2 separate regions of the Homo sapiens genome follow, and region 2 is linked to region 1. Evidence: promoter capture Hi-C in 16 types of primary human blood cells and fetal thymus (Javierre and others, 2016). All regions are on one chromosome and are shown on one strand. The core of a region is centred on a gene start or on the middle of the fragment in contact, and the rest is flanking DNA. Distances in the headings are between cores, read along the strand shown.

What was found. The method cuts DNA at HindIII sites, captures the fragments that hold promoters and counts their contacts. A CHiCAGO score of 5 or more calls a contact.
Region 2: a contact is called between a fragment that was not itself captured here and the fragment with the promoter of KBTBD12 in region 1, in 1 of 17 cell types (endothelial precursors). The highest score is 6.1, in endothelial precursors.

Annotation. Positions count from the first base shown.
Region 1 is chr3:127,913,269-127,919,118 of GRCh38, reverse strand. KBTBD12 (kelch repeat and BTB domain containing 12) reads right to left here and starts at 3,887. Exons shown (of 6, transcript NM_207335.4): 1 at 3,533-3,887. It overlaps LOC107986129 (a long non-coding RNA gene), which reads left to right. Exons shown (of 5, transcript XR_001740896.2): 3 at 878-914. LOC124909427 (a long non-coding RNA gene) reads right to left here. Exons shown (of 2, transcript XR_007096071.1): 2 at 4,453-4,773. The HindIII fragment of the contact is 5,822 bases long and covers 1-4,793 here.
Region 2 is chr3:127,646,756-127,652,186 of GRCh38, reverse strand. The region is part of intron 2 of PODXL2 (podocalyxin like 2); the gene reads right to left. Among named protein-coding and RNA genes, the nearest start is that of PODXL2, 20 kb to the right of the region's middle. The HindIII fragment of the contact is 2,470 bases long and covers 267-2,736 here.

The DNA.
Region 1 (5,850 bases), core at 2,638-5,137:
AGAGAAATGACTTGGACAGGGCTAAATTCCAGTCTGTGGATAGGACAGGAGCAGGGTCTTACACTTTGTTCCTTGGCAATCCAAGGAACATCAACATTATGATGTCAGAAAATGATGTCCCAGTTTCACTGTTTAAAAAAAACCATTTTTAAGGGTGGGATCCTTTTGTACATTGGTCACTACCGTGTATAAAGTTATTACCCCACATTACAAAAATATCCCGGGCCTGTTTTCACCAACACTACCCCTCATTCAGGCATTCTGGCGCCTCCCAAACTTTCCTGCCTCGTCTCCTGACTTTCCTTCCTTATATTTTTCAATCTTTGAGTAGTACCAAACTACTACAGTTCTAACGCATATGGGCCTTTAACACGCTGTTCTCTTTTCTTTTTCTTTTTTTTTTTTTTGAGACGGAGTCTCGCTCTGTCGCCCAGGCTTGAGTGCAGTGGCGCGACCTCGGCTCACTGCAAGCTCAGCCTCCTGGGTTCACGGCATTCTCCTGCCTCAGCCTCCTGAGTAGCTGGGACTACAGGCGCCCGCCACCACCCCCAGCTAATTTTTTGTATTTGTAGTAGAGACGGGGTTTCACCGTGTTAGCCAGGATGGTCTCAATCTGCTGACCTCGTGATCTGCCCGCCTCGGCCTCCCAAAGTGCTGGGATTACAGGCGTGAGCCACCGCGCCTGGCTAACATGCTGTTCTGTCTTTACACGTGTAAATCTGTGTCAGAAATATCTCCCCCATCTACCTGAAAAAATATAACCTGGTCTTCAAAATTCAGCTCAGATATCACTTCCTCACTGACGCATCCCTTTGCTTTCTTGCCTGTGTTGTGTACACTGTGGTTGCTGCACTGCTATTGCCATTCACTTTTGCAGATGCTTGCCTCTCCTGTCAATGATGAGCACACTGCGGGTAAGGGACTTGTCTTCGTCACTTCTGTATTCTTGAAAATGTTTACTTATTTATTTTAGAGACAGGGTCTTGCCCTGTTGCCCAGGCTGGGACCTCAGCCTCCCCTGTAGCTGCACCACTACATGCACCACTATGCCTAATTTATTTATTTATTTTTTGTAGAGACAGGGTCTTACTGTGTTGCCCAGGTGCGTCTCAAACTCCTGGCCTCAAGCAATCCTCCTGACCTGGCCTCCCAAAGTGCTAGGATTATATGCTTGAGCCACCATACCTGGCCATTTCTGTATTCTTGTCTGTGATGACACTTAGCACACAGGAGTTGCTCAATACGGTTTGTTCAATTAAATTAATGCTTTGTTTAGTCCTAAATTACAAGTTAATGATAACTTTTCTCTAGGTTTTGTACATGATAATAAAAGATTATATTCAAGATTTTTTCTACATATAAAATTTATTGTGATACTATAAAATATTTATTTGGTGTTTGCCCTTTTCCTGACATACAACTCCTAAAATCCTTGGAATCTCCAAAGTGATAAATACCTTTCTGTACACTAATGAGTTGACTGAGGGCTGGCAGCCTCTAGAGCTTCAGGATAGGAGCTGGTCCCCGGAAAGAATAAGGCAGGATTAGAGCATTGGGACTTTCAGCTCCATCCCCTGACCTCCAGGGAGAGGAGCAGAAAGTTAAGTTGATCACCAATCAAGCATGCCTATGTAATGAAGCCTTCCTAAAAACCCCAAAAGGACAAGGTTTGGAGAGCTTCCAGGATAGCTGAACATGTGGAGGGTTCCCGAAGTGTGGTGCACCTGGCTGTACCCCTTCCCCCATATCTCATCCTATATATCGCTTCACCTGTATCCTTGTTAATATCCTTTATAGTAAACCGGAAAACTTAAGCGTTCTTCTGAATTCTGTGAGCTGCCCTAGCAAATTAAACCCAAAGAGGGAACCCCAACTTGAGATGGGTCAGTCAGAAGCTCTGGATGCTGGGACTAGTGTCTGAAGATAGTGGTAGCCCTGTGGGACTGAGCTCTCAGCCTGTGGGATCTGACGCTGTCTCCAGGTAGATGGTGTCAGAATTGCACTGAGTTAGAGGACACCCAAGCTGCTGTCTGCTGCAGAACTAAGTGATTGGTTGCTGATGGGGAGAAGTCTCCACATACCTCTTGGTTAGCAGAGGTTACAGACATTTTCTGTGTTCATTGTGTGAGAGCAGCAGACAAACAGTTCTGTGTTTTTTCCCACTCGCCAACGCTTAATGCTTCAAGTTGCTATCCTCTTGTTCCAGTCAAATCATTCAGAATCGTGAAGTGACTCCCTTGCTTATAGCGTGATGCACTATGACACCCAGTTTTCACTTGCACCCTCAAAATTAATTCCCAGTCATTTGCTGTCTGGGATTTGGCCCCATTCTTAAGGAACTACTGAAGCCATGTATTGGCTTCACTTACGCCTGAGATTACAAATTGGCTGCTCAGTTTTTTTTTTTTTTTTTGCTTTTTGTTTTGTTTTTGGTAAATTAGCTGTCAACATGCTAAGCTGAAATATTCCAGCATCTACTGAAAAAAATGAAAGGTATGGCAACACTGAGTCCTTAATTCCCAAGCGGCAACAATGTGCAGGACCTGAGTACCCAGCTGCCACCTCTCAGCTGGCACATCTGCTGGGCCCCATTATCCTCTTTGAGACCTGAGGGACAGTCATTATTTGTAATTCTTACGCTGTTGCTTTTCTCTTTCCTGTCCATTTACATTATCCTACAGCCATTTAAGTTTGTGACCCCCAGTTTATACGATTACGTCTCCACACCCTATTTTGTTTCAGCAACACCATCTTGCTAAAATCCTACGCTTGCAGAGGCTGGTAGGAAATGGCTGAGAACACACGCACCACCCTAAATGTACTCTGTGCTTCTCACTAGCATGGAAAAAGACCTGATTCATTTCATAATAATCCATCCCACACACCGGGCATCCAGTAACAGCCAGGCACATGGATGATAAAGACAAATAAGACCAGTTTTCTTTTCTTTTCTTTGCCGAGTTCACACTGTTTTGCATTCTCACAGTGCTTTATACTTTTCAAAGTGCTTTAATCCGCATTATAGCTCATTAGTTCCTCTTAAGAATCATTTGGGGGAAAATGTAGGGCAATTATTCTCCTGGCTTTAAAGTTAAGAGAGTTGCTCAGGGATACATTCAGGGTTTATTAAACTTAAACGAACCCTTCTAAGTGCCAGGCACTATCCTAGGTTCCGGGAAGACAACCAGGAACAGGGAAGTGCCCCTTACCTTTGTTGTGCTTACAGTCTAGCGACGGAAGGCACAATAATACATTGGTCAGGTAATTCGGAGGATGATAATACTATGCAGACTACGAGCCTGAACAACCCGACGGTGAAGGTCGGAGACGGCAGAGATGGCCTGGAGGAGCAGCTCCTGGGAGCCCCACCTGACGCCAGGCGCCGGCCCACTGCGACTCGAAGGAAGTCACTTAGAGCCGAGGCTGCAAGTGCCGGTGGCCCCGGGTCGGCGCCCAGGTTCAACCTGGCCCGGAGTTGAGGCAGGGCTTGTGACTGGGGGCCGCGTTCCCCCGGGGCGCTACCCCTACTTACGAAGGTGCTGCCTGGTTCGGGGCGCGTCCCCACTCGCTGGGCCACGACCTGGCTTGGACGCTACCGTGTGGCAGGGCGGCCAGCGGGCCTGACTGAGGCCACTGCCCAATATGGGCCTGTGCTGGCTGGGCGATATAAATAGAGGTCCCGCGCCCTGCGGAGGAGGAGGGAGGGCGCTGGCAGCGCCTCCGAGGGGACAGGTGCTGCCCTCTGCTTGGAAGTGGCCCGAGACCACGCCGCCGCTGCCCTCCAGCCACTGTGCGCCTGCGCACCTATTCCCGCGCTGGTTCCAGACGGCGACTACAGCCCCGGTGTCGCTGCACAGGGTCTCCCCGCGCGCGTCCCGTACCCTACTGAGCGTCCCCCGCGGAACGCTGTGCGCCTGCGCAGAGTGTTCCCGCGCTGGCCCGCGTGCCAGAGCGACTGAAGGCCTGCGGGGAGGGGATGGGGACAAGTGTTTAAAGGAGGTTTGGAAATCGAGCTTTGAAAAATGCCGGTGTTCCCGTTAGTCTTTTACACTTGCAAAATGACCAAAAGACCCCGTGTGTAGTCTCACTGTGACCGGGGGGTAGGGTTGCCCGGTAAAATACATGAGCCCAGTTAAAGGTAAATTTCAGATACACAACCAGTAATTTTTAGTGTTAAGTATGTCCCAAATATCGCATGGTCAATTCACGTTTAACTCGGTGTTCCGGTTGGGTTTCGTTTTGGTCTTGTATTTTTATTTGCTACATCCTGAGCCATCAGCTTGTGATTTTTATACCCTACACCTCTCTGAGAGTGGGAGGTTTCCAGGAGTCCCGAGAAAGGACTGGTTAGCCGGGAGCAGTGCAGGGATGGGAAGTCTTCCTTAGGCAAGTGTCATAAAATACGGCAGCTGTATTAGCTCAGTTAGCTTAAACCAAAGCAAAATAAAACTGTTTTCAGTGGTGGCAACATAACTTTATTATCTTACTATTATTTTAGCTCTGTAGGTCAGAAGTCCAAAATATGTCTCACTGGATTGAAATCAAGGTGTCAGCAGGACTGTGTTTGTTTCTGGGGCTTCCTGGAGTGAATCTGTCCCTGCCCTTTTGCAGCTTCTGGAAACTGTCTTCATTCTTTTGCTCCTGGCTCCTTCCTCCAGCTTCAAAGCCAGAAAATAGGGCTGAGTCTTTCTCACATGCATTGTGTCTGCAGTTGGTTCCTTTCAGTGGGCTTGTGGTCTCCATCTCGCTAACTTCAAGAATGAAGCCACGGACCTTAAATGTTAAAGAAAGCTTTAAAGGTCACATGGACCCAAACAGTGAGGAGCAGCAAAATTTATTGTGAAGAGCAAAAGAACAATGCTTCCACAACCTAGAAATGGACCTGACTGGGTTCCCTGTGTTGACTGGGTGGCCAGCTTTTATTCCCTTATTTGTCCCTGCCCATGTCCTGCTGATTGGTCCATTTTACCAAGTGCTGATTGGTCCATTTTACAGTGTGCTGATTGGTCCATTTTACAGAGTGCTGATTGGTCCATTTTACAAACCTCTAGCTAGCCACAGAGAGCTGATTGGTGTGTTTTTACAGAGTGCTGATTGGCCCATTTTAGAAACCTCTAGCTAGCCACAGAGCGCTGATTGGTGCGTTTTACAATCCTAGCTGCAGAGTGCTGATTGGTGCATTTTACAATCCTCTTGTAAGACAGAAAAGTTCTCCAAGTCCCCACCCAACCCAGAAGTGCAGCTGGCTTCACCTCTCAGCATCACTTTGACACTAACTCTTCTGCCCACCTCTTCCTTTTTTTTTATTGTGGTAAAATATACATAACATAACATTTATCATTTTAATCATTTTTAAGCATAGTCAGTGGCATTATGTTAATAATGTTGTACAACCATATCCAGTATCCATTTCCAGAATTTTTTCATCCTCTCAAAAGAAACTTGGTACTCCTTAAACAATAACTTATTTCTCCCTCCCCTTTAGCACCTGGTAACCACTATTCTACTTTTTGCCTCTACGAATTTGCCTATTCTAGGTGCCTTATATGAGCAAAATCATACAGAATTAGTCCTTTTTTGGGGGAGGGGGATGGGGACGGAGTCTTGCTCTGTCGCCCAGGCTGGTGTTCAGTGGTGCGATCTCAGCTCACTACAACCTCTGCCTCCCCCGTTCAAGTGATTCACCTACCTCAGCCTCCCAAGTAGCTGGGATTACAGTCGTGCTCCACCACGCCCAGCTAATTTTTGTATTTTTAGCAGAGACGAGGTTTCACCATGTTGCTCAGGCTGGTCTGAAACTCCTGACCTCAGGTGATCCACTCGCCTCAGCTTCCCAAAGTGCTGGGATTA
Region 2 (5,431 bases), core at 252-2,751, 260 kb after region 1:
GCTCTAAGTTGTGATGCTAGACTTGTCACAGTTGTAAAGTTGTAAGACTCTTAGACTCTTGTGTGGTTAAAGCCAGTGTCTTTTGACACATCCTGGTCATTTAGTCCAGCACCCGGGCTTGGCTTGGGATGCTGGACAGGAGCAAGCTGACAAGCAGAATCATGACCTCTCCCCAGTCTGCCCGTACCTTTGTGGCCGCAGCCAACCTCCTTAAAGCTGGGCTTGAATCACAAGAGTGGCTGGCGTTAAGAGCCCCAGGCCAAGCTTCAGGGTTCTGGAGGCATGGGCTGGAATTCTGGGTGGCCACTTGCCTCTGTGTGCCACACACCCACCTCTCCATGATGTGAGGCTAATACCTCAGGTTGTTACAAAGATGAAGTGGCATCAGGAATGCAAAACACCCAGCCCACAGAAGGCACACTTTCCTTCTGTCACACTCCATGTTCTCTGCTCCTCTCAGCATCCACACAGCCCAGCTCACGGCAGGTGTATCCGTGGTTAGGGTCAGGGTCCTAACACGGGAAGGGACCACAGGAGGCTACCTGACGAGGCCTCAGCCCTCTGGCAGGCACTGGTGAGTCTAGAGAAGATGGGCTGGCAATTATCTTCAAGAATATGGCTGGGTCTCTTTAGAGAGGCATTTCTGTGTTATTGACTTACCCCTACACCCCCATTTGCCTAAACCCAGCTGTGATGGTTCCTTTACAACTCAAGTCCATCTCTGTTTCATCTGGTAAGTGAGCAGCACCTGCTAGCACCGCCTTCAGAGGAAACAATGTACATAGTCTCTTAGTTGCCCCTAAACCTAGCTTCTTTTCCTGGGGCTAAACAACTGTAATTATTCTTTATTCTCAACCTTTCTGTTTTCATCCTTCTCTTGTGAAAACTCTGGATTCACCCTGGTGTTTTTTGTTTGTTTGTTTTGAGATGGAGTCTTAGTCTGTCGCCCAGGCTGGAGTGCAATGGCACGATCTCAACTCACTGCAACCTCCGCCTCCTGGGTTCAGGCGATTCTCCTGCCTCAGCCTCCCGAGTAGCTGGGATTAAAGTGCCCGCAACCACATCTGGCTAATTTTCGTATTTTAGTAGAGATGGGGTTTCACCATGTTGGTCAGGCTGGTCTTGAACTCCTGACCTCAGGTGATCCACCCGTCTCGGCCTCCCGAAGCGTTGGGATTACGGGTGTGAGCCATCGCACCCAGCCTCACCACAGTTTTAGGAGTATTACAGCTGGGCGCGGTGGCTCACGCCTGTAATCCCAGCACTTTGGGAGGCTGAGGTGGGTGGATCACGAGGTCAGGAGATGGAGACCATCCTGGCTAAAACGGTGAAACCCCGTCTCTACTAAAAATACAAAAAAAAATTAGCTGGGTGTGGTGGTGGGTGCCTGTAGTCCCAGCTACTCAGGAGGCTGAGGCAGGAGAATGGTGTGAACCCAGGAGGCGGGGCTTGCAGTGAGCCGAGATCGCACCACTGCACTCCAGCCTGGGCGACAGAGCAAGACTCCGTCACAACAACGACAACAACAAAAAAAACAAACAAAAAACAAAAAAGAGTGTTACAAAATCAGCACAGGGGGTACACAGTAAATATTTGCTGAATGAACTATTGAAAACTGAACAAGATTCACTAACTTGAGACTAATTGATGCAAAATGTAAAGGGGTTTCTCCACTCCAGTGGCACTACTGTCATTTATCACAGCTGGTAAGCTGAGCTCTCCCGCGCCCCCTGTGATGGGTTGGTGCTGGCTCAGATGCAGCTCCAGCTCACCCTGATGAAGCCCCAGGCCTGGGTCCCCTAGGCCTTATTTCTCCGCTTTCTTTTAAACTCATTATGGTGCTGGCTTTGTTCCCTAAATAGATCATTTTTCCCTCCTATATTTCATCACAGTTCTGTATAGGTTTCTTTCCCCAGTTTATCGAAGTCACTCTGGACTTTACTTCTATCTCTCAGGGCAGCCATAATCCCAGGGATGAACTTCAGCACAGGCTGAAATATCAATGAACTGATTCTTCTATTCAAGAGACAGAATTAAAACAGGCATAAGGGCCAGAGCCCTTGAAAGATCACTTTAAATGTCCCTTTAGGTTAATGTCAAGTCACTGAAAATTGTCCCCTCACTACAACTCTCAAGTCAGTTATCCAACTGAGTGTTAATATAAAAACACTCAAAATTAAAAATAAATATGTCTAAAACAGAGGTGCAAGGGAAGACGTTTTAGTATAACTTAAAACTACTTTTTTATTTAAGACAAAGTCTTGTTCTGGTGTCCAGGCTGGAGTGCAGCAGTGTGATCTGGGCTCACTGCAGCCTCTGTCTCCTGCGTTCAAGCAATTCTCCTGCTTCAGCCTCCTGAGTAGCTGGGATTACAGGCACCCACCACCACACCCAGCCAATTTTTGTATTTTTAGTAGAGACGGGGTTTCACCATGTTGGCCAGGCTGGTCTCGAACTCCTCACCTCAGGTGATCCACCCGCCTCGGCTTCCCAAAGTGCTGGAATTACAGGCGTAAGCCACCATGCCTGGCTTAAAACTACTTTTTGATAGTCAACCTCAATAGTCATCAAAGGAATATAAAGTAAACTGCAAAATGCCAAAATCTTTGGACTACCAACCTGACAAGTATATGTATACATTCAAAGTCATTCATGCCTAGTATTGGAAGGGTGAGGGATGGGAAGGAAAGCAGGCCACATTTCTGGAGAGCTACTGAGTCACAGGAACGAGAAGCTTTAAAGACAAATATTCTGAACCTACAATCTCACTTCTGGAAAGGTACCCTAAGGAGACGATTAGGGACGCTCACAGTCATGTGGCTTTATAGATCCCCATCATGGCACAGTCCATGTAGCAGAAGACTGGGGTCCAGCACCCACATGGCAGGGGACTGCCCAAAGAAATGATAGACCCGCCTTATACTGGGAGACCATGGCAGCCTTGAACAGGCTGCAGAGCTGTGTGTGCTGGCTTGGAAAGAGGTTTCTAAGTGAAACAGCAAGATGTGTATACCACAGTGTCCACTATTGTCCATTTTTTGTAAAAGCATATTTTTATATATGTCCTATAAAGGAAAAAAAAAAAGTCTGGAAAGAGCTGGGTGCAATGGCTCATGCCTGTAATCCCAGCACTTTGGGAGACCAAGGCAGGTGGATCTCCTGAGGTTTGGAGTTCAAGACCAGCCTGGCCAACATGACAAAACCCCGTCTCTACTGAAAATACAAAAATTAGCTGGGGGTGGTGGCACCTGCCTGCAGCCCCAGTTCTCAGGAGGCTGAGGCAGGAGAATTGCTTGAATCCGGGAGACAGAGATTGCAGTGAGCTGAGATCGCACCAGTGCACTCCAGCCTGGTCGACAGAGCAAGACTCCGTCTCAAAAAAAAAAAAAAAAAAAAAAAGAAATACAAAAATTAGCTGGGCATAGGGGCACACACCTGTAATCTCAGCTACTCAGGAGACTAAGAATCACTTGAACCCATGCAGCAGAGGTTGCAGTGAGCCAAGATCACACCACTGCACTCCAGCCTGGGCAAAGAGTGAGACTGTCTCAAAAAAAAAAAAAAGTCCAGAAAGAGATAGTCCAAAACGTTAACATTCACTGACTGAATCACTGGATTATAGGTGATTTTTATTTTCTTCTTTTAATTGCTGTTTTAAATTTTTATATGTTGATATTTATTACTAGCACAGAACAAGAATGACAAGGCTTTTGTTTTGGTGTCTAAGTAAAAGTGCTCTCTTTGTTGCTCTGTCCACAGGCTCCACAGCTATCGGCCCATCCTAAGGACATGGATACACCTGATGTGTGGGCAATGACCCAGAAGGTCAAATCATTCTACAGCAGACACAATCACAACAAGGCTTCGCTGTACAGGAACCAGCTCCAGGTCCCAGCAGACAGCTGCTCGGTCGGTCTGCTTTCTCCAAAATTGATTACGGCAATGATAATTAAAGTAGCCTAATGAAGGACTTTGTATTGAGGGGAGCAGCAGATCTTGAAGTAGAACTCTCAGATTTGAGATTTAGCTCTGCCACTATGTCATTTAGAGCCACTTTTAAATCTCTGTCAGCCAGCTTCTTTAGCTGTAAAACAGTGATCTAATCATGCCTGCTTTTACAGATTTCATCAGGTTGCTGTGAGGTTAAAAAAAAATCCAAGTGAAAATGACATATGAAGTATAGGCACTTTATGAGTGTTCCCTACTCAAGCACAGTACTGTTGTCTCATGCTCTCTTTCTGTTAATAGCACCTCAATTCTACTCTGGGGGACATTCCTCCTCTCTTTTTGGTCTGGAATGTCCCCTGGCTTCAGGGACAGCTCAACATGGGCCTGGACAGTCAAATTCCATCCCCAAGCTTGGGACTCAGGGAGACCATCCAGTGACTGTTCCTGAAGTGCTGGGAAGGCAGAGCTCCCTTTCTGCGGGGTGCTGAGTGATGGGACGACAGTGTGGAGCTACTGGGCTCTCCAAGCCGGTGCCCAGGACCAGCCTGCCTGAGAACGAAGCCAGCAAGGGAAAGCCGAGCATGACTGATGGGACAGGGCAGGCTCCAGCACGTTGAGGGCGGCACGCCGAGTGCTGGAGCTGGAAGCCTGTTCCTGGACCCCCGTTCTTCAGCCAATAAAGTCCCCTTTTATCAGACAGGCCCGTGAGCCTGTCTGAGTTGGGTATCTAGGACTTGCCAACCCCAAAGATTAAAGTGTTTCTTGCAGAACACTTTAATTTGCTCACTCACTAGGAAAATTAAAACTGCATGCAAGACAATTTCCTTAAGGAGCTTAGAAAATGAAAGGGCTAGAGGGGTCAGTGGGGACAGTCTCGAATGAGTAGGTAACCTGAGAGACTGCTCCTAATCATTAACAATTGTGCATGAATTAACTGGTCAGGCTGTAACTTCACTTGATGCTAGCTGGTGGAGCAGCAATTCGCATTCCATGTTTTTTTCCCTGCTTTGTTGAGGTTGCTCTTTTCACTTGAAATGTCACAGAATCATAATATTTTCAAGCTGCAAAGACTTCAATCTATTATTCCCAGGTCTCATTTTGCAGATGAAGAGACTGAAGCCAACATTAGAAAAGCAGCACACTCAAGGTCACACTGCTCATTATCCACCAAGCAGAAACTCCACCAGCTGTTTTTCCCACTGGGCCCGGGGACCATCATTACAGATGGAGAAGGAAGGCATCAGCTCTACCTGAGGCCCAACACACTAGAAATGGGATGTATGACAAAGTCCTAGTGACAGAATGGACTGGTTTCCTGTCTCACATGTGTCATCAATGTGCTCCCTTGGCAAGAAGCCAGGCCCAGGGCATCAGTGCTCAGGGATACCGACTCCAGATTCGGCTCTGCCACACACAAGCTGTGTGGCCTTGGGCAAAGGTCTGAACCTCCCTTGGCCCAGCTCACCATTTGTCAAGCAAAGAG